Linked DNA regions of Homo sapiens: all the other regions are linked to region 3. The links are contacts of gene promoters, found by promoter capture Hi-C in blood cells and fetal thymus (Javierre and others, 2016). All regions are on one chromosome and are shown on one strand. Each heading gives the region's core, a stretch centred on a gene start or on the middle of the fragment in contact. The rest is flanking DNA. Distances are from core to core; before and after follow the strand shown.

What was found. The method cuts DNA at HindIII sites, captures the fragments that hold promoters and counts their contacts. A CHiCAGO score of 5 or more calls a contact.
Region 1: a contact is called between a fragment that was not itself captured here and the fragment with the promoter of DAPK2 in region 3, in 9 of 17 cell types (megakaryocytes, M0 macrophages, erythroblasts and 6 more). The highest score is 7.0, in megakaryocytes.
Region 2: a contact is called between a fragment that was not itself captured here and the fragment with the promoter of DAPK2 in region 3, in 14 of 17 cell types (total CD8 T cells, M1 macrophages, M0 macrophages and 11 more). The highest score is 9.5, in total CD8 T cells.
Region 4: a contact is called between a fragment that was not itself captured here and the fragment with the promoter of DAPK2 in region 3, in 16 of 17 cell types (total CD8 T cells, megakaryocytes, M1 macrophages and 13 more). The highest score is 15.2, in total CD8 T cells.
Region 5: a fragment that was not itself captured here is called in contact with the fragment with the promoter of DAPK2 in region 3 in 13 of 17 cell types (activated CD4 T cells, M1 macrophages, endothelial precursors and 10 more); the score reaches 9.0 in activated CD4 T cells.

What each region holds. Positions count from the first base shown.
Region 1 is chr15:63,727,416-63,732,886 of GRCh38, reverse strand. HERC1 (HECT and RLD domain containing E3 ubiquitin protein ligase family member 1) reads left to right here. Exons shown (of 78, transcript NM_003922.4): 15 at 3,238-3,390; 16 at 3,519-3,651; 17 at 5,049-5,240. Among named protein-coding and RNA genes, the nearest start is that of HERC1, 100 kb to the left of the region's middle. The HindIII fragment of the contact is 7,228 bases long and covers 1-5,377 here.
Region 2 is chr15:63,763,113-63,768,450 of GRCh38, reverse strand. It overlaps HERC1 (HECT and RLD domain containing E3 ubiquitin protein ligase family member 1), which reads left to right. Exons shown (of 78, transcript NM_003922.4): 3 at 4,260-4,355. Among named protein-coding and RNA genes, the nearest start is that of HERC1, 68 kb to the left of the region's middle. RefSeq lists enhancers at 1,246-1,746, 2,562-3,319. The HindIII fragment of the contact is 482 bases long and covers 1,848-2,329 here.
Region 3 is chr15:64,044,174-64,049,133 of GRCh38, reverse strand. It overlaps DAPK2 (death associated protein kinase 2), which reads left to right and starts at 2,649. Exons shown (of 12, transcript NM_014326.5): 1 at 2,649-2,836. RefSeq lists silencers at 2,476-2,685, 2,706-2,765, 2,796-3,015 and enhancers at 4,216-4,265, 4,316-4,365. The HindIII fragment of the contact is 10,777 bases long and covers 1-4,960 here.
Region 4 is chr15:63,745,937-63,750,949 of GRCh38, reverse strand. HERC1 (HECT and RLD domain containing E3 ubiquitin protein ligase family member 1) reads left to right here. Exons shown (of 78, transcript NM_003922.4): 9 at 1,159-1,303; 10 at 1,412-1,583; 11 at 3,092-3,226; 12 at 3,867-4,032. Among named protein-coding and RNA genes, the nearest start is that of HERC1, 86 kb to the left of the region's middle. The HindIII fragment of the contact is 5,044 bases long and covers 1,230-5,013 here.
Region 5 is chr15:63,780,758-63,785,603 of GRCh38, reverse strand. All of the region lies in intron 1 of HERC1 (HECT and RLD domain containing E3 ubiquitin protein ligase family member 1), which reads left to right. Among named protein-coding and RNA genes, the nearest start is that of HERC1, 51 kb to the left of the region's middle. The HindIII fragment of the contact is 2,717 bases long and covers 402-3,118 here.

The DNA of each region.
Region 1 (5,471 bases), core at 514-3,013, 320 kb after region 3:
GGGGTAGGGATCTCTTTAGTCAAGGTATTTTGACATTTAAACACCTATGATAGAAATCAAACTCTAGACCCCTCTCCCCCAAGGGGAAAAACATGTCAGGGTTTCTGAAATATTGTGGGGACAAAATAACATGTAATTGAGAATTTCAAAGGGATTTATTTTAGAATTTTACCAGATTTTTCTGATATTGTAGAATAATAAACAGAATAAAATAGGAACATTTTTAGAGAGAAGAATAATGAGCAAGGGATTAACCTTGCCAGTTATAATCTTATAATGAAACAATGTACTTGGAACTGAATGAGAATAGGTTGGTCAGTAGGATAGAGGACAGTGGACCCTATAGCTTTCCCTGTATTAGTATGCCATTAATTCTAAATCTCTAGTGTTTCTTAAATTCATCTTTTTTTCCTGCCATTTCTTTGAGTTCTAAGCCAGATCATTATGATTCAGTGCTAATAATGTTATAGCTATTGTCACTATTGCTGGTTTCTTCTCAGCATCTTACTGCTGGAATAACTTTGTATTAAATAACTTCTTTATATTAAAGAATACAACTTCTTTGTATTAAATTAAAACCCCTTCAGGCCAGGCGCGGTGTCTTATGCCTGTAATCTCAGCACTTTGGGAGGCCGAGTTGGGTGGATCACCTGAGGTCAGGAGTTTGAGACCAGCCTGGCCGATATGGTGAAACCCCGTCTCTACTAAAAATGCAAAAATTAGCCAGGCGTGGCGGCTGGCATCTATAGTCCCAGCTACTCAGGAGGCCGAGGTGGGAGAGTTGCTTGAACCAGGGAGCAGAGGCTGAAGTGAGCTGAGGTCGCACCACTGCACTCCAGCCTGGGTGACAGAGCGAGACCCCATCTCAAAACAACACCACCACCACCACCACCCTTCAGACCCTTTATCATCGGCTCACACACCATTCTTATCTGAAATCATCCTTTTCCAGAATTGTACATTGTACACGTATTTCCTGTTGTTTTTCTCTACCAATCTGTGATGTAAGACTTGACTATTCTAGGAAACCTTGCCCAAATAACCCCATCTAGCCAGAGATGCATATAGCTACACATCTCTGTACTCATCAGCACTTACAGGATCAGAGTGTACTGTGTAACTTAACTTTGAATTGTTTGTGTATCAATTAATATTGTTTCCTGTGGCTCTTCAGGGTCTGGTCTACGTACTCTTTTTCTTCCAATACAAGTCTTAGTGCTCTATCCCGCCCACATTGAAAGGCTGATCACTAAGTCAGAGTGAACATTCTTCCTACAAAATTCTTTTCTTTCAGATTTAAAAATGTAAATTTAATCTGATGTTAAGGAGTAATGGCTGCAAATGGATAAGAACAATATTGTGTATATAGCCATTTGTTAATGACCAAAAATTTTTCCCAAAGTTATAAGGAATGTTACAACAAAGTTGAAAGGAATATTAGGGCTAAGGCAGATTTATATATTATATGGAAATGGAAATAAAATACTAACTGCTTTTGGGTAGAAATAATAAATTATTGTCTCTTTCTGATGTGATTTAAACCAAATTTGTTCTAAGATTTTAAAATAATGGTCCTAATTAACAACTTAGAGCAAGGGCCCTACAGTGTTCTCATATTGTCTTGTATATTGTACACATAAACCAAATTTTCTGCCTAAAGATATTCAGCACATGATTATTTACAGGAAAAAAAGTTGGAAATAACAGAAACATCTAAAAATAGAGGAGTGGTTAAGTAATTTATGGTACATGTGTTCAATGGAATATTTTATCATATTTTATATACACATGGTTTATGAAAATGTGTAAAACATTTATGATTCCATTGGAAAAGAGCAGACCAAAAATAGAATATGCAGTACAATATTATGAAAAATATTTTAAAAGGACAAAGGAAAGAAATACACCAAAAAATATTATAGTAGCAGTCACTTTCTTTGAGTAGTTGTTTAAATGGTGCTTTTAACTTTTTAAAATAGAGTTTTGATATTTTCTAAATATACAAAGCATCTCTTTTTAAAAAATATTTTTAACTTGAAGTAATTTAAAACTCACAGAGGAGTTATAGGAATCATTCAAAGAATTCCCCTGTGCTCTTCAGCCAAATTTGTTCTCTCTCTCTAAATCATTTGAGAGTAAATTGCAGATGGCTGGCTGCCGCTAAGTATTTAAGCATATATTAAGTATGTATTTTTAAAAAACCAGGACATTTTCTTATGTAACAAGAGAATAATTATTGAATTCACAAAATTTAACATTGATACAGAACTGTTATTTAATATATAGTCTACATTTACATTTCTACAGTTGCCCCTATAATGTCCTTTATAGCAGTTTCTGACCCCAGCCCTTCCTCTTCATGATCTTGTCCAGAATCACACATTGTATTTAGTTGTCATATCTCTTTTTTAATTTTAATTTTAATTTTATTAGAGACAGGCTTTCTGTTGCCCAGGCTGGAGTGCAGTGGCACCATCATAGCTCACTACAGCTTCGAACTCCTGGGCTCAAGTGGTCCTCCCACCTCAGCCTCCCAAGTAGCTGGGACTAGAGGTGTGCACCACCATGCTCAGCTAATTAAAAAAAAAAATTTTTTTAGAGGTGAAGTCTTGCTGTGTTGCCCATGCTGGTCTTGAACTCCTGACCTCAGGCAGTCTTTCCACCTCGGCCTCCCAAAGTGTTGGGACTATAGGTGTGAGCTACCGCACCCAGCTGCTTTTTTTTTTTTAATGGAAAAAACAAATAGAAGTAGCTTGATGAATTTTACCATCTAATAGCTAGTATCATAAGGGTTATAGCAAATACTTAAAAATTGGTAATGGGAGAAAGGATATAATGCTTTTTTTTTTTTTTTTTTTTTGAGACATAGTTTCACTCTTGTCGCCCAGGCTGGAGTGCAATGGCGTGATCTTGGCTCACTGCAACCTCTGCCTCCTGGGGTTCAAGCAATTCTCCTGCCTCAGCCTCCCCGGTAGCTGGGATTACAGGCACCCACCACCACGCCTAGCTAATTTTTGTATTTTTTAGTAGAGACCAGGGTTTCACCATGTTGGCCAGGCTGGTCTCAACCTCCTGACTTCAGGTGATGTACCTGCCTCGGACTCCCAAAGTGCTGGGATTACAGGTGTGAGTCACCGCACCCAGCCCATATAATGCTGCTTAAATCAGATTTATGGTAGGTTGTTACTTTCAGTTTCAAGCACTTCAAATATAAACTTCCTTTGTGTGTCATTTTAGGATCAAGCATTTGGAGAGCTAGAAAAGAATAGTGATAAATTTCTACTTGGAACATCATCATCAGAAAACAGTCAGCCTGCTCATCTTCATGAACTGCTATGTTCACTACAGAAACAGCTGCTGGCATTTTGCCATATCAATAACATTAGTGAGGTATGCGATTATTTGTCTTTTATGGTGATCTATCAGGGACCTTGAAACTCAGATATTTGGATAGGCCATGATATTTTTACACCTTGAATCTTTCAAAGTAGTAATTTAGGAACTTTTTTTCTTCTTAGAACTCAAGCAGTGTGGCATTGCTTCATAAACATCTTCAGCTTTTGTTGCCTCATGCCACAGATATTTATTCACGTTCTGCAAATTTGCTCAAAGAAAGTCCTTGGAATGGCAGTGTTGGAGAAAAATTAAGAGGTGAGTTTGGTATTTCATTTCAAATTTAATCAGTCATTAAGAAGTAAGAACACTTGGCTTTCCAAAGTCTTAAGAGAGCCAGAAGCCTCTGGAATAGGAATGGTCTTGAATTTCCTTCTATTGAAGATTCCTTTAGTCTTGGTTTGGGGGTAGTGTTAGCAGTGATTGGTCTTAGAAAGAGTCTACTTGGCATGACAGAGGCCTAATTTAAAGGCACTGGATGATATAAACTCAAAAATATTAATTTTAAATGGCAGAAAGTGAGATTTTTTAATCTGCTCTTTTTTTTTTTTTTTAAAACCTGCTCTTTCTTTACCTTTCTCTTCAGCATTTACCATTTTTTCACTTTCCTTCTTGAAATTCTTTCTTTGGGCTTCTGTGTAGTCACAGTCCTTTTTTCTCTCCTCTTCCTCTGACTCTTCTTTTTCAGTGGGTTCCTATAGGCTCCTCTTCCTTGGACATGCCCTCTAATGTTGAGGATCCTCCGAATTTTGCCTTCTATCCTCTTTGCTCCCCCAATGGTCTTATCTAGTCTCAGTGTCTTTAACAACCATTTACATATTAATGACTCCTATATTTCCATCTAGCTGAGAACACCTTTCCTGAGTCCTAGAGCCTTTCTTTAATTGCCTACTGGGTGTCTTTTCTTGGTTATCCAAAAGACAACCAAAATTTATTGTTTATCTAAAACCAGCTGCCCCTGAAGTTCCCCCACTGAAAAAAGAAAGAAGGGAACACTGTGAAACTGAAACCTTTCCTCATTAGATACCTCCATTTGGCTGTTCCACAGCAACTAAAATATTTTCAAACTGAGCTCATTTCTGAATGACCTTCTCTGCCCTGATATACAATGAAATAGTGAAATAAAATTGATTTAAAACCAATATGGATTATAAAAACACATGATTTAAGGTGATCTTGATTTTTAAAAAAGCAAATTTTGTTTAAAAAATATGAAAGCATTCCCTCACTAGCAGGTAAGCACCAGGGGGACAGGAAGTTTTAACCACTTTCTTCAAGGCTGTATCCCTTTCACCTAGAACTGTGCCTGGTATGTCAATAAATATTTCTTGAGTAAATAAATATTTCTTGAGTAAATTATAAAATGAAGATAAATTAATGAATGAGAAATTCATAATGAATTTTAAGGAAAACAGTTTTAATCCTTTGAATTTGTTGGTACGGAGAATACATATGCTTTCCTATAAAGTGTTTGTTGGTGGTACTTTCTGAAAGTGAATAAACACTGATACTACATCAGCTACCAGGTAGGTGTTCAACAGAGAGTTGTTGAATGAGTCTACTCTAGTTCCAAGCTAAAATAATATTTATTAGGTTCCTTTTTTTAAAGTTCATTTGAAGCAATTGTCCCATGTTTAATTTCTTGCCCTTCATAGATGTGATATACGTCTCAGCTGCTGGCAGTATGCTCTGCCAGATTGTTAACTCCCTGCTGTTACTCCCTGTGTCAGTGGCTCGGCCTTTATTGAGTTACCTCCTCGACTTGTTGCCACCTCTTGATTGCCTTAATAGACTCCTGCCAGCTGCTGATCTTTTAGAAGACCAGGAGTTACAGTGGCCTCTTCATGGTAAGTAAAGACAATAAAAGAGCAAATAATGCCTTTGAGAAAAGTTGTTCCTCTTGCACACATCACTGTGTTTTTCCATTGGAGTCTATCTATCCTAAGGCTATCAAAGGAATTTCATCACTGAAATCTTAAAAGCTTTTCAAATTTAAGTAAGTCCTCTTATTTTATTGGAAAGAATCCTGGGCTGGAGCATAAAAGGAAAAGCATTGGAGTTGGAAAGATGACCTTGAG
Region 2 (5,338 bases), core at 839-3,338, 280 kb after region 3:
TTACTTTTAAACACTTAGCTTCTGATATGATTCCATACCTGAGTCTGGACTCTGAAGCCTTACTACTCAAAGTGTGAGCCACAGACAATAGCACTGGCATCACCTACATTTGTTAGAAATGCAGAATCTTAGGCTTCTTCTCTACTTACTGATTAGGATCTGTATTTTAACAAGATCACCAGGTAATTCGTGTCAACATTGAAATTTGAGAAGCAACATCCTAAATAATTAAAAAGAAAAACTGACTTGGCAGCAGCAGGTTAATAGCAGATGACCCAGCAATAAGAGAAACAGTCGAATAGAATCAGAGATCTGAAGACGATGAGCAATGTGCTATGATTGGAAGGCTCTGATTAGCTATCATAGTTATTGAAAGCTATCTGAGAAGTGAGGGATTTGGAACAGCTGAAGAGAATAATTAAGAATAATGATTATTAATGGGGTGGGGCGATAACGGAGACTATGACAACAGGAAGCTTTACATAGTAAATTTATAAAGATCTTGGAGAAAAGGAAGCTATATGAAGAGACTGAAGATTAAACTTCTCTGCAGCTTTGCTGGGGTGAGGAGAGTGGTGTGAAAGTCATTCACATGGACTTCATCATAGCAGCTTTTGAAGGCAGAGGGAGAACTTGTTAGATGACAAAAAAGTTCTGCCATGTAATACTCAGCTCTTCGGAGAACTCTCCAAAGTGATTGACATTTCATTGATTTGAGGGTAGCAAGATATTTGCTGTTTTGTTTTGTTTTTGAGACGGAGCCTCGCTCTTGTTTCCCAGGCTGGAGTGCGGTGGGGCGATCTCGGCTGACTGCAGCCTCCGCCTCCTGGGTTCAAGTGATTCTCCTGCCCCAGCCTCCCCAGTGGCTGGGACTACAGGTGCCCGCCACCACGCCCGGCTAAAATTTTGTATTTTTAGTAGAGATGGGGTTTCAGCATGGTCAGGCTGGTCTCTAACTCCTGACCTCAGATGATCCACCCGCCTTGGCCTCCCAAAGTGCTGGGGATATTTGCTGTTTTTATTTAAAAGTATTATTTATTGTTTATCTGCCCAGTAGATACAGATTGATGAAAAGTTCACCATTGTTTTATTTACCTGATGGAATAGAAAGAGGACAGATGAATATATAGAGCAACTTAAAACCTATAGGCCAGGCGCGGTGGCTCACGCCTGTAATCCCAGCACTTTGGGAGGCCGAGACGGGTGGATTGCCTGAGGTCAGTAGTTCGAGAGCAGTGTGGCCAACATGGTGAAACCCTGTCTCTACTAAAAATACAAAAAAATTAGCTAAGCATGGTGGCGTGCACTTGTAATCCAGCTACTTGGGAGGCTGAGGCAGGGGAATTGCTTAAACCCGGAAGGTGGAGGTTGCAGTGAGCCGAGACTGCGCTACTGCACTCCAGCCTGGGCAACAGAGCAAGACTCCATTTCAAAAAAAAAAAACAAATGAAAAACCTATAAAACTTTAGTGTAGGCTGGGCATGGTGGCTCACGCCTGTAATCCCAGCACTTTGGGAGGCCCAGGTGGGCAGATCACCTGGGGTTGGGAGTTTCAGACCAGCCTGAACCAACATGGAGAAACCTCTTCTCTGCTAAAAATACAAAATTAGCTGGGCATGGTGGCTCATGCCTGTAATCCCAGCTACTCGGGAGACTGAGGCAGGATAATTACTTGAAACTGGGAGGTAGAGGTTATAGTGAGCCGAGATCGTGCCATTGCACTCCAGCCTGGGCAACAAGAGTGAAGCTCTGTCTCAAAAACAAAACAAAACAAAAAAACCCCTAACCTTTAATGTATTACGAAACTTAAAAAATTCTAAGTAAGCTTCATTAATAGTTGATAAGCTTTATTAATGTGCTGTTTTTTATTTTGAGACGGAGTCTCATTCTGTCACCTAGGCTGGAGTGCAGTGGTGCGATCTGCAACCTCCGCCTCCTGGGTTCAAGCGATTTTCCTGCCTCAGCCTCTCAAGTATCTAGGATTACAGGCACATGCCACCATACCTTGAGAAGTTTTGTATTTTTAGTAGAGACAAGGTTTTACCATGTTGGCCAGGCTGGTCTTGAACTCCTGACCTCAAGTGATCTGCCCACCTCAGCCTCCCAAAATGCTGGGATTACAGGTGTGAGCCACTGTGCCTGGCTAATATGCTTTTAATGATATTAATTTTAATTAATTACTAATATATAATATAACATAAATAAATTAGTATTAATCAAATTAATCGGATTAATATTGATGAAGTTAATGTTTGACCTCTATGATTATATTAATAGTATAAATACATTTTAATATTTACTAATAGTTAATAAGCCTTAATAATAAGCTTTATTAGTAGATCCTGAGGTGGGAGGATCACTTGAGCCCAGGAGGTTGAGGCTATAGTGAGTTATGTAAACCAAAAACTATCTGAGACAGGTCGCAAATCAATTTAGGTTTATTTTGTCAAGGTTAAGGACAATGCCTGGGAGATGAGTGTAAACCAAGAAGTGTCTGAGACAAGAAATTGATCTTTCTCTATCAGTTTAGAAAGCCATTGCACTCCAGCCTGGGTGACAAGAGCGAAACAGTCTCAAAAAAATAAAATAAAGTTTATTTTGCCAAGGTTAAGGACATGCCTGTGACAGCCTCAGGAAGTCCTGGTGGCAGGTGCCCAAGGCAGTTGGGGTACAGCTTGCTTTTATACATTTTAGGGCGACATAATATATCAATCAGTACATGTAAGATCTTATTGGTTTGATCTGAAAGGATGGGATAACTCGAGGTGGGGGGCTTCCAGGTCATAGGTAGATTTAAACATATTCTGATTGGCCGTTCGTTGAAAGAGTTAGTGGAATGTGTGGGTTACAATAAGGAGTTGTGGGAGAGGTAGGTTTTATCATGCAGATGAAGCCTCCAAGTAGCAGGCTTAGAGAGAATAGACTGTAAATGTTTCTTTTTAGACTTAAGATCAGTATTGATGTTAACGCTGGATGGATATAATGAGGCATGTCCGATCTCCCACTTCCCGTCCTGGCCTGAATCAGTTCTTCAGGTTAAATTTTAGAGTGCCCTCCCATAGGAGGGAGTCCATTCAGATGGTTGCTGGGGGCCTTTGAATTTTATTTTTGGTTTACACAGATCTGTGCCTTTTTCCAAAGGTGATATTGAGGGCTTCACTATTTAAAGGGGGTAAGCAGGCTGGAGGAGAACAAAGGAGGGTATGGTCGCATTACTGAATCCACAAATTGCAAGAGAAAAGGAGCAGAATAGTGGAATTATGTATTTCTCTGGCGCTCAGTAGATAGGCATTTTATATAAGATAAGGTGAACAGAGAGTAGTTACCTATGAGGATATTCACCCTTTCATCTGTAGCTATCTGCTTCGGAACAAAAGGAAAGGCAGCTTCTTGCATAAGTCAGCCGTCAGCTTAATTTTTTTCTTTTGTCAGGGTGAATTGGAGTCTCAAGGTTTTATTTCCTTTTCACAGCAATAATCTTTGCCACTGAATTCCAGCCTTGGCAACAGAGCAAGACCCTAGAAGGTCATATACCAGTTAAACTCCTCCATTTTGCCTCTTAATGTGCATGCTTGATCCCACTCACCCAGCTCCTGAGATCTTATTAGCAAGTTGCTGATCACAAGTTTCAGGGTTTTTTTCTGTCTGTTGGGAGACTGCCTTTCCCTGGTGCTGGCTGCAGTCAATTATTGTTTTAGAGAGACAGTTAACCACTGCCTGACCATCACTTGATGGTCACCTGACATACCTGGTGGTGGGGGTTGTAACACTGTAACACTGGGACCTTGGTTGTGGTGAAACTAAGAAGGGAGGGACAGACTTTCTGCTGCTTTGGTCACGTCATTACTAAAGCTGGCTGTATTCTGTCAGGTGGAAGGCAGGTGGGCAATATACCCATGGGGAGTATTTCCTGAGACCACATTTTCTGGATACTGGTCACCCAAAGAGTGTGTAACTGGCAGAATTCCACTTCCTTGATTGTTTCGAGAGCCCTGTGTCCCTTGGAATAAATCACTTTTTAATCAGGTAATCAGTGAGGGATTGGCACTTAATTTATCATGTGATGCAGTAGCCAGCTCGTTTAATAAAACTTCCTTGCAAAAGTTAGTTTCATGACCTAATGTTAGGATTTGGTTTCAGTGCACATAATTATATAAACAGGTCTTCAAATAGGTGTTGTTTTTGTAGACTGTTTAACTAATTTTAATGCATATGTCTCTCCCCTTCCTACGCTGTGTCCCGCAATGTTTTAATTATAGGGTTCATCTGCTGATCGGAGTCAGTGGAGAGAACCAACCAGAACATCGGATGGCTTGTGCTCCCTTTACGAGGCAGCATTATGTCTCTTTGAAGAGGTACGTAATAATCGTGGCTTTTGTATTAACAACTTTGTGTTAAAATGCTATGGCATGTATTTATCCCTTAAAAATAATCCATTTTCTCTGGAAAAGCTACAAAAGGAAGTGGCACCAGTTGTTACCTCTAGAGAGAGGAACTGGGTATCTAGGGTGGGGGTGGGGTGAGTAGGAGACATTCTTTTCAATGTATACCCTTTCATTTATTTTGATTTTTGAATTATGTGCTGGTAACTTTAATTGAAAAAATGTTGTATTAAGTAAAACACATAGAAAAGCATACACATATATTGCTTAATGAATTATTATAAAATAAATACCCTTCTAATATGTACCTAGGTAAAGAATTTTCTTAGTCATTGCAGAAGCCCTTTCACAGCCTTGTCATAACCTCTTTTCTCCTCCCCAAAGTAACCACTATTGTGACTTTGACCACTTCCTTGCATTTCTTTATAGTTCTGTCAACCAGATGTGCATCCTTAGACACTATAGTCTTGCCCATTAAAAAAAAAAAAAGGAAAGTCTTTTAAATATTTTAATCTCTAGGTTCCCTCCTCCATTTTTCTTTTCCTTCAATATGTTTGTTCAGGAATCTAGGCTTTCTAGGCTGTAGCATTTCCCACAGTCTGGGTTTTACTGATAGATTACTCATGATGCAGTTCCTTATGTTTCTTTATCCTCTGTATTTCCTATAAATTGGCAGCTGGATCCAGAGGCTTGATCAGTCTCAGGTGTTATGTCTGTATACATGTATTCTTCCATTAGGTTCTATCTGGTTGTCTCTCTTTGTGGTATTAGCCCTTGATGCTTAATGACTATATTAATTCTTTTGTGCTTTGTTGCAAAAATATGATATTCTAATTCTATCGTTTCTTTTTATTAGTGTTGGGGTGATCAGACCCAACACCAGGTCGTGGGGGTGACAAAGTCCGGTGGATTCAAAGGATTGAGAAAAAGACAGTTTGAGAGAGAAAGGTGGGACA
Region 3 (4,960 bases), core at 1,400-3,899:
AGAAAACAAGACAGCTATGGCCCCTTGTGATATTTACCTTCCTTAATTCAGTTTAAGAAACCTTTACTGGGTTTGGGATATCAAGCACTGTATGGGTTCAAAGATGGACAAGAAATTGTACTTGCCCTTGAGAAAAGGAGAAGTAGACACTAATTAAAATAGAGGAAGGAAGATGACAAGAGATGTACCAACCAAGAGTGGTGAGGTTCAAAGGAGAGAGGTATTTAGAGGGCAGACCAGGGAAGTTTCTGTGGAAGACATGATACTTTAGAAGGCTCTTAGAGGATAGATAAGATTTTGTAGAATGGGATGAAGGGTAGTGGAAACGAACAAAAGCATGGAGGCAGGAACAGCCAATAATCCAACCTGGCAAAAGAGCTGGATGTGCATGCAGAGGAGGGAAGGGAATGTGCATACACAGCAGGAAAATAAGGGTTGGGGCCTTAAATGCTAGGGTGAGGCATTAACACTCGATTTGGTCAGCCATGGGAACCATGCAGGGACTGGAACTGAGTTGGATAATTCTTAGCTCTTAATACCTGGACTGCCTCTGGCTTCATTCTGGAATTTGTGTCTTCATTGCCACTGTCCTCGGGGCCTCCCCTTTTCTGCTGATGGCCACCTTGGTCCTGTGTTCAGTGCCCTGTCGCTGCCCTCAGGTGAGGGTCTGATGAACTCACCCAACCTTAAGCATAAGATGCATCTCCAGATGGTAGCTTCCTAGATAGTTGCATTCTGGCAGGTACAGTGGAAGGGGCACCAGACTGAATCTGGAGGAGGCCTGGTTCTAATCCTAGCTCTGTCTCTCACCAGCTATGTGATGTTGGGCAAGTCACCTCCCTTCTCCGAGCCTCAGTTTCCTCATCTGAAAAGTGGCCAGGGTCAATTGACAATGACCCTTCCAGCTGCAATGGACTCTGACTAACTTGTCAATTGCTAAACCCAAGAATGTCTCTTTTGACTCATGTAAGGGGCTGCTGCTGCTGACAATGAGGTATTAAGCATGAGGCTCAAGGGAAAGAGATGGAGAGGCCACATGTAGGTGATCAGCAGGGTCAGCTGAGCCCAGCCTTGGATTCATCACAGCCCAGGTACTGGGTATGAGAATGGAGAAATCTCCAGATGATTTCAGCCCCCAGCTATTCAGGTGTTCCCAGTTGAAATCCCAGACACTGCAGAGCAGAAATAAGCCATACACACTGTGCTGTCTGAACTTCTGTCCCTCAGAATGCATGAACATAGTGAAACTGTTGTCCTGTGCCACCAAGGCTGGTAATGGTTTGTCACCAGTGATAGGTAAATGGAAATGGAGGAAGAGGTGTTTAGGGATAGTTTGGTGGGGGACTTCTCATGTTGGTGAAACTTCACCAGTGGGTGTCATTCCCTTAGGTCCGTTGACATCAGAAACCACCTCTAGTCTTGGATATTACTCTATATATCATGCTGCTCTTAGGAGAGGAGGCTCGCTGGCTGCACTGTTCTGAATTATTGTGAAGTTTATAAACAAGGAACTCTTTGCCGAGGATGTCCTGGACCCGGAGGCACTGCTCAGCTGGGGGGTGGGGTCCATCTGTATTTGTCCCAATGTCCAAAAGGCTGAAGGGTGTGTGTGTGCTCACACTGGTAGAGGTCCTCTAGGTGCATCTTACACACTCCATCTCATCTCAGCCCCACCATAGCTTCATTAGGAGCTACCGGAAGGTGCGTTTCTCCCACTTTACTGATGAAGAAAGAGCCATGCCCAAGAACACACATGCGGAGTGGCAGGGCAGGGCTTTGAACCTGGTGGTAGGACTCTGAATCTAAGGCCCTTTTGAGGAGCCCCATGGGTGACTTAGGGATGGAAATTCCAGGGGTTGGAGGGGTCCTCATTTGCTTCCTCTAAACAGCCTCTTGTTTTGAAATAAGACAAATGAACTTGGCTTAAGTTCTGTTTTCCCTTCCTTCCTCCCTTCACCCCCTCACTCTCATTCCTTTTTTCCTCAGGGATTTTTTGGCAGAGGGCAGAGAGAGGAACCCATTCCCAAGTCCTCTATTAGAGAAGGCGTGATGGTGAGAGGGGGGCTTCACTCAGCAACCGTGCCAGGACAAAGGGCAAACGAGGGCAGGCCGCTCTCAGGCTGGGTCGGGGGCAGTGAGGAGCAGAGCGGCCCTTCTCATCGCAGCCCCCACCTTGCTGTACGCTGTGGGCTTGAGGTTTCCAGGAGAGTCTGCGGTGTAGGGAGCGCTCTGGCTGGGAGGGAGGAGACGGCCTATTCCTCAGTGGGGCTTCCTCGCTCACGGTGTGTATGGTGGGGAGAGGAGCACACAAGTACCATTTTCTGAGGATTGTGCCAGACCATGTCATACGTATAAGCTCATTCAAATCGATTTCCAGATAAGGCCGGGGGAGGGTAGCCGACTTGCCCAAGGCCACGCAGCATGTGCGCGGTAGAGCCGGTAGGGACGCGCAGAGGGTCTTGCTACCGACTCTCCCCGCTCTCCCGGGAGTCTGGGAGCCCTGAGGTGTCCCCTACCCGGCCGGGAAGCTGGGCTCTCGCCCCGGGACTGTCCGGAGGGGGCTCCAGCAGGGGGCGCCCCGAGCCCCGTCCCGGGCAGCCGGGCGCGCCTCCAGCCGGCGCCTGGGACGGGGCTGGCCGCTCCGCCCCCTCGGCTCCTAGGCTGCTCGGCGGGCGGGTGCCGGGCGCTCTGGGAGGAGAGGACTGCAGGGCCGAGCCCAGCGCACCCCGCCGCGTCCCCCGTTCCCGCCGCGCCCGCCGCGCCCGCCGCGCCCGCCGCGCCCGCCGCTCCCGCCGCGCCTGCCGCGGCCGCGACCGCGGCAGCTCAGCCTCCCGCCGTGAGTAGCACCCGTCTGCGGGCTCGATGGGCGGGACGGGGCGCGCGGCCTGACGGCAGCAGCGCCCGGGTCTGGGGCTGGCGGGGCGAAGAGATCCGGGGCACTCGCTCGCAGATCCCGGGCCCGCCGCCCCAATGCCTGACGCCGTGGCCCGGGGCATTGTGGCCGGCACCCGAGCGCGGGAGCTGCCCGCCGCTGCCCTGGGGCGCCCTCCGGAGCCTGGCACTTTGACCTGGGAGACAGGGTAGAGGCGGCGGGCAGAGCCAAGCACCCAGCAGGGAGATGGGAGACAGACGTCCATCGAGTTAGGCCCCCTGGAACGGGCAGAGCACGCCCGGCTCCCGGCCAAGTCTTCTCAGCTTGGGCTGACTCTCTCACCTCTTGCTCCCGCCTGGCACAAGGATGTGATGCGAGGAGGGTGCTCAGATGTCTGAGCTTCCTCTGGGGCTGAATGAAGCTGGGGTCCCCGCCGTCAGGCGCCCCGGCCTGGGGTAGAGCTAGGATGGGCGTGGGGGCGGCCAGCAGGTGTGCTGCAGGTTGGGGTGGAACGGCTTGGAAGGGCGTTGCCAACAGTTGACTAGGACTCTGGGCTAGGCATTTTGGAGGTCCCAAGGCTTGCATAGGTCTGGCTAACCCTCACCGTAACTCTGCACGGTGGAAATTGGTATTCTTACTTTACAAAAGAGAAAACAAGGTCCAGAGAGGTGAGCCTCGTTGAGGCCGTGCAGGTAATGGTAAGGCAGTGGTGCACACTGGAGGAGAGGGCACCATAGCTGGCTGCCTCGGGGGCAAGCGGGCAGGTGCAGGGACAGCGCCTGACATCTTGTATCCTGGAATCCTGTGGAGGGCAGCCACTCTGGTTTCTGACACTGCGACTCCCAACTGCCTCTGTGGAAGATATTCCTGGGAGAGTCCTGTTGACCTAAGAGGCCGTGGTGCCTTGGCCTCTTCACAGCTAACTTCACAGCCCTGTCCTTCCCCAAACCGCTCATCTCCCAAGATGTTTTTTGAGCACCCTCAAGTGGCACCACTGATGATTCAGCACCTTCAGAGGAGACTTGGGCAGAGGGGTCAGGGGTGTGTGGATGTGGCTGGAGGTCTGCTCCTCTGGGGTAAGTTCCTGGCTGGCAGGAATGAGACCCGCACTGACCCTGCCCACCTCCTTGAGGCCTCCCGATTTGTTAGCTGTGGGGTGAACAAGCAGGCTTCCCAAGGGAGCTGGATCTTTGCCAGAGAGACCAAGTTTTTCTTGTGTCAACTCAGGCAGGTGGCTGACCTTCTGTGGGCCCCAGCTTCCTCATTGGAGACTGTGATGGGTCAAAGCCTGGAATGTAGAGAGGAGCTCTGTAATGCCGGAGCCCCATCCCTTCTGTTGGCAGCCTCTCCAGAGCCTGAGTGTGATGATTCCTAATGGGGGTGTGTGTAATGAGACGGTCGTGTGTGTTTTGCCCAACCATTGCCTGCCCTCTTGCTGTGGTCCCGTTTCACTCACTTGCACTTGGTGAGGTGGGATGAGGAACTGAGAGAGTTCACTTTGCAGAGTGAGCTGGGCCAGTGGTGGAGAGGGCTTCTTGAGTGTTGAGAGTTTCCTATGAGGTGATCTTCCAGCCCTAGACACCTCCTCCTAGCTTGTCCCTCAGGAGGCCACTGACTTTGCCAACCCTGGTGACATCTTGGAGGAGTTGGGGTGGCTATCAACAGAAGAAGCCCTGGGAAGAGGAGCGGGATGGGTCACCTGTATGATGCTCAGTGAGTCCCTTCCCCTTTCTGGATCTCAGCTTCCTCTTGTAAAAACAAGTGGGTTAGACCAGACAGCAGTGGTTTTCAAACTTCTGTTTCACAGTGAATTCTTACCCAGAACGCCAACATATAGTATGGATAACGTGGAACTGCTCTGGCTTCCCCTTCTCACCCTGGTGATCCTGAAGCAGTTCTAAAAATCCCTAAATAGATGATCTATGGGGTTCTAGGAAATCTGTGGTAGCCCCCTGAAGTGTTGCCTGGTATTAGAGTTGTAGGCAGGAATTTGAATTCCAAGGACTCCATCAGGAGAAACATGGGCATTAAGGTGGGTATCATCCTGGGAGCATCTGGAGCTGATGGCCTGTGCTTCTGGCCAAAAGT
Region 4 (5,013 bases), core at 2,502-5,001, 300 kb after region 3:
TTATTTTATTTTGAACTCAGGGTCTCACTCTTTTGCTCAGGCTGGAGTACAGTGGCACAAACATGGCTCACTGCAGCCTTGACCTACCTCCTGGGCTCAAGAGATCTTCCCCATCCCAGCTCCCGAGTAGCTGGGACCACAGGCCTGTGCCACAATGCTTGACCAATTTTTTTAAATTTTTGTGGAGATCGGGTCTTGCCACATTGTCCAGGCTGGTATTGAACTCCTGAGCTTGGGTGATCCTCCTGCCATAGCCTCCCAACGTGCTGGGATTACAGGCTTAAGCCACTACATCCGGACAGTGCTCTTTATTTTTAATTGAAGTGGTTTAATCTCTCAGCAGCAGTCTTTCCTAAAATAATTGCAAGACAAAAACAAATTCTCAAATTTGATGGCATGAAGATAAGAATCTATATAATCTTACCAAAATCTATTGAAGATAAAGAAAAAAAATCATTCAGATTGCTGATTGTTTTGATTTTGTTGATTTTGGGTTGCCAAATTGTCAGTCAGTCACCTATTTGTCTTGCCAAAGACAAAATTTTTTTTTCCCACCTAACCCTTTCCCCAAGCATCTTAAATCAGTTAGTGATTCTTTTGGTATTCATTAGTCAAAAATGAAGATGTTTAAGGGGAACTACCTTGTTACTGCTTCACATGGCCCTCTTTGTAAGTGATAATTATTGCAATAATGAGGTGAGGTATTTCTAAAACTAAATAATAAACATCAGTTTTGTGATTTATATAATCCATTTTATATGATAATACCTTGTTCTAATCTTAAATCTCACCGGAATAGTGAGAAACACATAAAGGAGAAGTTTTAAGATGGTATTTTCAAAGCTGGTGAGATGGGGCAAATATAACAAATTGCAAGCCGATTAGTGGTTTAGCAGACCCTCTCAGAAGACCTTTCTGTTTTTTCTATGACCAGTTATTTTTATTTTCAGATCAGCTGTTTTTCTGCCTATACAGTGAATGCCTAAAGGCAGCATGATAAATCGCTGTAACAATCTTTAAAATGATCAAAATGATTTTAACATCAGAAAGTTATTTACTATCAAACCACACTTTAGTTTCATAGATTTCATTTATCCCTAAAGCCAACAATCTAATCATCTCAGGAAGTTATGTGTAACGTATTTCTGTTTTTTTCAGGTCTATGCTTGGGGCTGTGGAGCTTGTCTAGGTTGTGGTTCTTCAGAAGCTACTGCTTTGAGACCCAAGCTTATTGAAGAACTGGCTGCCACAAGAATAGTTGATGTTTCTATTGGAGACAGTCATTGTTTGGCTCTTTCTCATGGTAAAGTCATTTGTTTTTAAGGAAATAGTATTAACTGTTGTCTTGTGTAAATATATTACATTTGAATTTGGCTTTTCTTTTATATAATACTTTATATTTTGTTTTTAGATAATGAAGTTTATGCCTGGGGCAATAACTCAATGGGGCAATGTGGTCAGGGAAATTCCACAGGTCCTATTACTAAACCAAAGAAAGTGAGTGGCTTAGATGGCATAGCTATTCAGCAGATTTCGGCTGGAACATCACATAGTCTGGCATGGACTGCTCTTCCTAGGGACAGGTAAGAGTGCCTATGTTTAAAAATTCTTGTGTGTTTTAACATAAACACCAATAAAAAGTAGAAACACTAATAAAAACAGAAATAATTGTGCTTTGTTCATAAAATACTCTTCTGAACATATATAGTATTGCTTTTTCTCTATCATAGAAATGACATTAGATTTCTTTTTATTTGAATGTTGAGGTTAGACATGTTTCCGAAGCAAGAAGTCATACCCAGTATTTAAGACATTGTCTTTTAAACATTTTGAGTTCTCTCTCATCTCTACATGCTGATTTAAAAAAATTAAATATCTGCATATCAAGAGGAAATTAAAATAATTAAAATCAGAACTAGGCTTTATTGATTTAATGTTTAACCTCAGTGCTCTCAATCTGGTTGGTTTTTGAATTTTTTTTTTTTTTTGGAAAAAAAATTGTCATACTTTAAATCAAGGAGGTTAATTTTTGCAGAAACTTAGCTTTTTCCGAAAGTGCTAACTGTACGTGTTTAGTCCATCAGGTAGATGAGTTTCAGTCACTATTAGGAGATTGAATTTTAAAGAATGTTTGGGTTATTTCAGATATTTTCAGATACACATGGGCTAATTTATAGCTTAGAATGTATTTTATTTGCATTCTATGCCTTTGACTCAGGGTTTTAAAATGATACTCTAACCAATTAAAAATATTTATCAATAGTTATTCCTCTAACACAAAAGCCAAAATAAATAAGTTGAATATAAATAATTTGCTATTAGCATTACATCTCCAACTTCCCACTTCATATGTAGATAGTTGGGTCCCAAGAACTGAAAAGTATTAACAAGAAATTTCAGGATTTTGTCTTTTAATAGATTTCAGTATATCACTCTATAGAGTCAGGATATTTTTCTTAATATGAAATATATATTTTCTGGACTCTTAGAACCAGAGGGGCTTTAGTAGATCATGTGACTCAGCCCTCTGCTTTCAGGTGAGTGGACATCCAAACCTTCCAAAACAGGTGGTGGTTGTATGTTTTCTTCTTAAAGATGGCAAATTCTTGGTTTTCCTTAGTTGCTAAAATGAAAGGTTTTATCACTTTCATAATCAGTAATGTCTTCTTTGTATCTTGTTGAACTCATTCAGCTTTAATGTATATATGTATATATATATTTTTTGAGATGGAGTCTCACTCTGTCGCCCAGGCTGGAGTGCAGTGATACAGTCTCTGCTCACTGCAGTGTCTGCTTCCCAGGTTCAAGCGATTCCCCTGCCTTAGCCTCCTGGGTAACTGGGACTACAGGCATATACCACCATGCCCGACTAATTTTTATGTTTTTAGTAGAGATGGGTTTTCACCATGTTGGCCAGGCTGGTCTTGAACTCCTCACCTCAGGTAATCTGCATTCCTTGGCCTCCCAAAGTGCTAGGATTACAGGCATGAGCCACCGTGCCCAGCCAATATATGTTTTAATTTTCGTTTTTGATCGTGCATAAAAATTTCATTTTAAGACTGTTTTATTATTTTCTTATGTGTCCTTCTAGACAAGTTGTTGCATGGCACCGACCTTATTGTGTAGATCTTGAAGAGAGTACCTTCTCACACCTGCGTTCTTTTCTTGAGAGATACTGTGATAAAATAAACAGTGAGATTCCCCCACTCCCTTTCCCTTCATCAAGGTATGTTATATGTATGTTTTGTATCTTTGTGTGTGTGTGTGCGCGCGCGTGTGTGCATGTGTATAAATTATTCCTTTTGAGTTTTGACTTACTGTTCTTTCTTGTTTGGTTTCCCAAATTATATGAAACTTTTTTATAATCTAGAAAAGAGCTAAACTTAGATACTTGTTGATAATAACTTCTAGGAAAAAGTTACTTGTAATTTCACAAATCATGTTTTAAAAATTACTGTTGTTCATGACTTGACAAAATTTTTTTTTTTTTAAGATGGTGTCTTGCTCTGTCGCCCAGGCTAGAGTGCAGTGGCATGATCTCAGTTCACTGCAGCCTCTGCCTCCCAGGTTCAAGTGATTCTCTTGCCTCAGCCTTCTGAGTAGCTGGGATTACAGGCACCCGCCATCATGCCCAGCTAATTTTTGTATTTTTAGTAGAGGCGGGGTTTTGCCATGTTGGCCAGGCTAGTCTCTAACTCCTGACTTCAGGTGATCCACCCACCTCCGCCTCCCAAAGTGCTGGGATTACAGGCATGAGCCACCGCACCTAGCCAACAAAATTTTTAAAGATATAAAAATGTTACCCAAACTGGATAGCACAGGCACTTTTATGATCCGAGAATTCATAGACGTTTATTTGGTTTCAGAGAACACCACAGTTTTCTCAAGCTGTGCCTGAAGCTACTTTCAAATCACCTTGCTCTTGCACTTGCGGGAGGGGTAGCTACCAGCATTCTCGGGAGGCAGGCAGGTCCACTTCGAAATTTGCTCTTCAGACTGATGGACTCAACTGTCCCAGATGAAATCCAAGAGGTAAGAGAATAGGACTTGTGAATCTGTATCTCAAACCACGTCTTTCTCTGAGATTTTAGCTATACAATATATTCAACTGTACATTGGACAATTTCAATTGGATGTTGTTTCCCTTACTCCTGTTTTCTTGGTGAGAGTATTTTTGGTTAACTCATCCTTGAGACAAAGGTCAGATGCCATCTCTGATAAACTTTTTATTCCTGCTCTCCCACCAGATTTGGTTTTTCTTGTATATGTTCTCATTACATCACATTGTATTCTAGTTGCTTATTTACAAACATGTCACTCTTTTTTCACCAGAAGATGAGTTCCTGAGGGCAAGGACCTAGGGCATGGCTTGGTCAGTAGTAGTAACTGAATAAGTGGACTGGATCATCTACTAGAACTGTAACCAGAGCTAAGGAGAGAAAGGTCAGCTTAAGGAGGAAGAAGTGGCCTAGAATAGAATACTGGTTATAAATAAGGAGAGTATAGTTTAAAAAAACATATTTAGTATTATAATACAATGTTAAATTTGGGGGAAACTTAAAAATATCTATATATTTGTAATACAAAATACAGAAAATAAACTCTTTTGGTAGGTAATAATAGAAAGTACAGTAATTTTTAAACCAGTGCACTCCTAAATTATCAGTGGATCAAAGAAAGAAATTACAAGATAAATTTAATACTTAAGATTAATGAAAACAAAAACTTAACATACCAAAACTCATGAAATGCAGCTAAAGCTGTGCTTGGAGGAAAATTTATAGCTTATAAACATCTATATTAAAAAAAATATATATCGAATCAGTAATTTAACCTTCTACCTTAAGAAATTAGAAAAAGAAGAGTCAACTCAACCCAAAGCAAGTAGAAAAAAGGAACTAATGTAGATTAGAGTGAAATTAAAAAAATAAAGAACAGAAAAACAATTGAGGAGATCCAGGAAACTAAATGTTTGTTCTTTGAAAAGACAAAATCAACAAACCTCTGGCTGGA
Region 5 (4,846 bases), core at 511-3,010, 260 kb after region 3:
AGAGATGGGGTTTCTCCATGTTGTGCAGGCTGGTCTTGAACTCCTGAGCTCAAGTGATCCGCCCACCTTGGCCTCCCAAAGCCTTGGGATTACAGGTGTTAGCCAGCGTGCCCAGCCTAATATTCTTAAAGTTTATTTTGTTTTTCTAATTTTGAATTGAATTATTAATATATTTAATTTTTTTAAGAGACTTTGTCTCACCTTATTGCCCAGGCTGGAGTGCAGTGGTGCACTTATAGCTCACAGCTTTGAACTTCTGAGCTCAAGCGATCCTCCCACCCAAGCCTAAGTTGCTGGGACCACAGTCGTGTACCACCATGCCCAGATAATTTTTAAACATTTTGTCAAGGTAATGTCTTGCTATGTTGCTCAGGCTGGTCTTGAACTCCTGGCCTAAAGCTTCCTCCCACCTTGGCCTCTTAAAATGTTGGGATTATAGGAGTGAGCCACCACACCTGGCTTTCAGTTAATTCTTACTTAGAAATGGAGCATTTGAGTCTTTATATATTTATTTGAGTCAACTTTGACTACATTCCCTTGATTTTGATATATGTTTCTTTTATATAACTTTCTAGATAATTTGTAACTCCTTTCCCCTTCCTCTCTTTGTCTGAGAAACTTAGTTTCCAAAAATTTAGGTTTTGCCTTGTTTTGGATTTCTTTAAAAATGCTTTTTGAAAATTTGCACTGATAGGCCAGGGGCAGAGGCTCACGCCTGTAATCCCAGCACTTTGGGAGGCCGAGGTGGGCTGATCACCTGAGGTCAGGAAAGCGAGCCCATCCTGGCCAACACAGTGAAACCCCAACTGTACTGAAAATACAAAAAAAATTAGCTGGATGCGGTGGCAGCCACCTATAGTCCCAGTTACTTGGGAGGCTGAGGCAGGAGAGTCGCTTGAACCTGGGAGGCGGAGGTTGCAGTGAGCCGAGATTGCGCCACTGCACTCCAGCCTGGGTGACAGAGTGAGACTCTGTCTCAAAAAGGAAAAAAAAAAAAATTTGCATGATAATACATGCATATATAAGAAATTCAAATTTATGCAGTGAAGAGCAAATATCTTTCCTACCCCAGCTCCCAGTAACCCAATTCTCCTTCTCCCAGAGGCAACTAGTGTTCCTAGGTTTTAAAAAAATGTTTTCAGCATTTATTATTAAACCCTTTTTAATATAGTTATGTTACTGTATATGAACTATTACAGTATACACAAATACTTTACATATTTTTCTTTTTTAACAGTGTATCTTGGAGATTGCTCCATTTTAGTTGTTTTGTGAATTCTTTTTGGTTTCACTACTTTCTGGCTAGAACTGTGGTCTATAATTATGTGTATATTTTTGAATTATTTGTTAGATAATAGTCAATTTGAAAATATTTTCCACTGGTACTTAAAAAGAACATATTTTAGGATATGGATAATATTTTAGATTAGATTTATCATCTTGGATTACATAGATGACTTCAGGACATCCATGAAACCTTTGGAAATTTGCTCATTTTTATGAGTATGAGCATGAGTTTTATTCTTTTTTTTTTTTTTTGAGATAGAGTCTTCCTGTGTCACCAGGCTGGAGTGCAGTGGCATAATCTTGGCTCACTGTAACCTCTGCCTCCCGGGTTCAAGCCATTCTCCTGGCTCAGCCTCCCGAGTAGCTGGGATTACAGGCGCCCACTACCATGCCCAGCTAATTTTTGTATTTTTATTAGAGACGGGGTTTCACCATGTTGGCCAGGATGGTCTTGATCTCCTGACCTCGAGATCTGCCCGCTTCAGCCTCCCAAAGTGTTGGGATTACAGGTGTGAGCCACTGCACCCGGCCCGATCATGAGTTTTATTCTTTGGGGAGTCACGGTCTACTGCTTTTATCAGATTCTCAAAGGAATTCATGGTCTACCAATAGATTTAAGGACTGGTGGTTTATATACTGTTGTACTTTGCCTTATTTGTCAAGTACTGGCATATACCTTAGAGATACTGTGGTTTGGTTCCAGACCACTGCAATAAAGCGAAAAGTACAGTAAAGCAAATAAATCACAATAAAGCCAATGTCATAGTAAAGCAAGTCACACAGTTTTTTTGGTTTCTCAGTGTATATAAAGGTTATGTGTACCGTATACTGTAGTCTGTTAAGTGTATAATAGCATTATGTCTAGAAAAGCAATGTATGTACCTTAATTAAAAAATACTTTTTTTTTTGCTAAAAAATGCTGAGAGTCCTCTGATCCTTCAAAGAGTTGTAATCTTTTTGCTCATGGAGGGTCTTGCCTTGATGTTAATGGCTGCTGACTGATCGGGATGGGGGTTGCTGAAAGGTTGGGATTACTTTGGCAATTTATTAAAACAAGACAACAGTGAAGTTTGCTGCATTGATTGGCTCCTCCTTTCATGAATGATTTCTCTGTAGCATGCAATGTTGTTTGATAGCATTTTACCCACAGTAGAACTTCTTTCAAAATTCAAAAGGAGTCAGTCCTCTCTAACTCTGCTACTGCATTATCAATTAAATTTATGTAATATTCTAATCCTTTGTTGTCATTTCAGTAATATTCACAGCATCTTCACCAGGAATATCTTTCATTTCAATAAACTACTTTCTTTGCTCATCCATAAGAAGCAACTCCTCATCCGTTAAAATTTTATCATGAGATTGCTGCATTCAGTCACATCTTCGGGCTCCACTTCTAATTCTACTTCTCTTGCTATTTCCACCACGTCTGCAGTTACTTCCTCCACTGAAGTCTTGAACCTCTCAAAGTCATCCGTAGGGGTTAGAATCAACTTCTTCCAAACTCTTGTTAATATTGATACTTTGGCCTTTTCCCCATGAACCATGGATGCTCTTAATGGCATCTACAATGGTGAATCCTTTCCAGAACATTTTCTATTGACTTTACCCAGATCTCAGAGGAATCACTATCTGTGGCAGCTATAGCCTTACAAAATGTATTTCTTAAATACTAAGACTTGAAAGTAGAAATGACTTCTTTATCCATGTGCTGCAGAATGGATGTTGTGTTTAGTAGGCATGAACACAACATGAATCTCCTTGTACATCTCCAGTAGAGCTCTTGAGTGACTAGGTGCGTTGTCAGTGAACAGTAATGTTTTGAAAGGAAGCTTTTTTCTGAGCTGTAGGTCTTAACAGTGGGCTTAAAATATTTAGTAAACTGTGTAGTAAACAGATGTGCTGTCATCCAGGCTTCGTTGTTGGATTAGTAGAGCACAGGGAGAGTAGGTTTATAATAATTCTTAGGTGCCCTAGGTTTTTCAGAATGTAAAAGAGCATTGGCTTCAACTTTAAGTCCACCAGCTTCGTTAGCCCTTAGCAAGAGACTCAACCTGTCCTTTGAAGGCAGGTATTGAATTATTTCTAGCTATGAAAGTCCTAGATGGCATCTTCCAATAGAAGGCTGTTTTGTCCACATTGAAAATCTGTTGTTTAATATAACTACTTTCATCAGTTACCTTAGGTAGATATTCTGGATAACTTTGTGCAGCTTCTACATCAGCACTTGCTGCTTCACCTTGCACTTTTATGTTGTGGAGACAGGTTCTTTCCTTAAGCCTCATGAGTGAACCTCTGCTAGCTTCAAACTCTTCTGCATTTTCCTTACCTCTCTCAGCCTTCATAGAATTGAAGAGAGGGCCTTGGTCTGGCTTAGGCTTTGGTTTAAGGGAATATTGTGACTGGTTTGATATTCTATCCAGACCACTCAGACTTTCCCCATATCAGGAAAAAGGCGATTTCACTTCTTTATCATTTATGTATTCATTGGAGTGGCTTTCTTGGTTTCTTTAAGAACTTTCCCTTTGTATTGCAACTTGGCTAACTGGCGCAAGAGGCTTAGCTTTTGGCCTGCCTTCCTCACTAAACTTAATCATTTCTGGCTTTTGATTTAAAGTGAGGGACATGGTGTCTTCCTTTGTCTTGAACACTTAGAGGCAATTGTAGGGTTATTAGTTGGCCTAATTTCAATATTGTTGTGTCTTAGGCAATAGGGAGTCCCAAGGGTAGGGAGACTGGGGAATGGTTGGTTGGTAGAGCAGTCAAAACACGTACCATTTATCGATTAAGTTTGCCATCTTATATGGGTGTGCTTTGTGGCACCCCCAAACAATTACAATAATAACAATCAAAGCTTGCTGATTACAGGTTACCATAACAGTTATAATAATAATGAAAAGTTTGAAATATTGTAAGAATTACCAAAATGTGACACAGATACATGAAGTGAACACGTACTTTTGGAAAAATGGCACCAATACACTTGCTCAAATGAGGGTTGTCATAAACCTTCAATTTGTAAAAAAGATGCAGTATCTGTACAGCACAGTAAAGTCAAGTGCAATAAATGAGGTATGGCTGTATTTAAGTCTCTATTACTGTGGTTGCCATTCTTCCTATATTCTCTGTGGTTTCCGCTTCATTGTTTTATAACTCTGCTTGTAGTAAAATAAAACTGTTTGTGACAGTTTTATTAGTGATTATACTGTTCATCATTACCAAGTAACCCTTTTTGTCCCATTTATTACCTAACAGATGATACTTTTTCTGTTTGCATTTGTTTGTTATATCATTACCCTACATTTTATCTTCAACATTTTGAAATCACTTGTTTTAGATCCATCACTTAGGATATACATTTAAAAAATGATTTACTTATTAGATTTATAGTTATATACATTTAATTTATAGCAGAGATTATAAATTTTGGGCCATAACTACTTTCATATATGTTTTATTCAGTTAGCATATAGGTTATTATTATTTCACATCAGTCTTTATCTTTTGGTTTTAATAGGTGAATTTTACAGATGTTGATGTAGTAGCTGTGCTCGGTCTTACA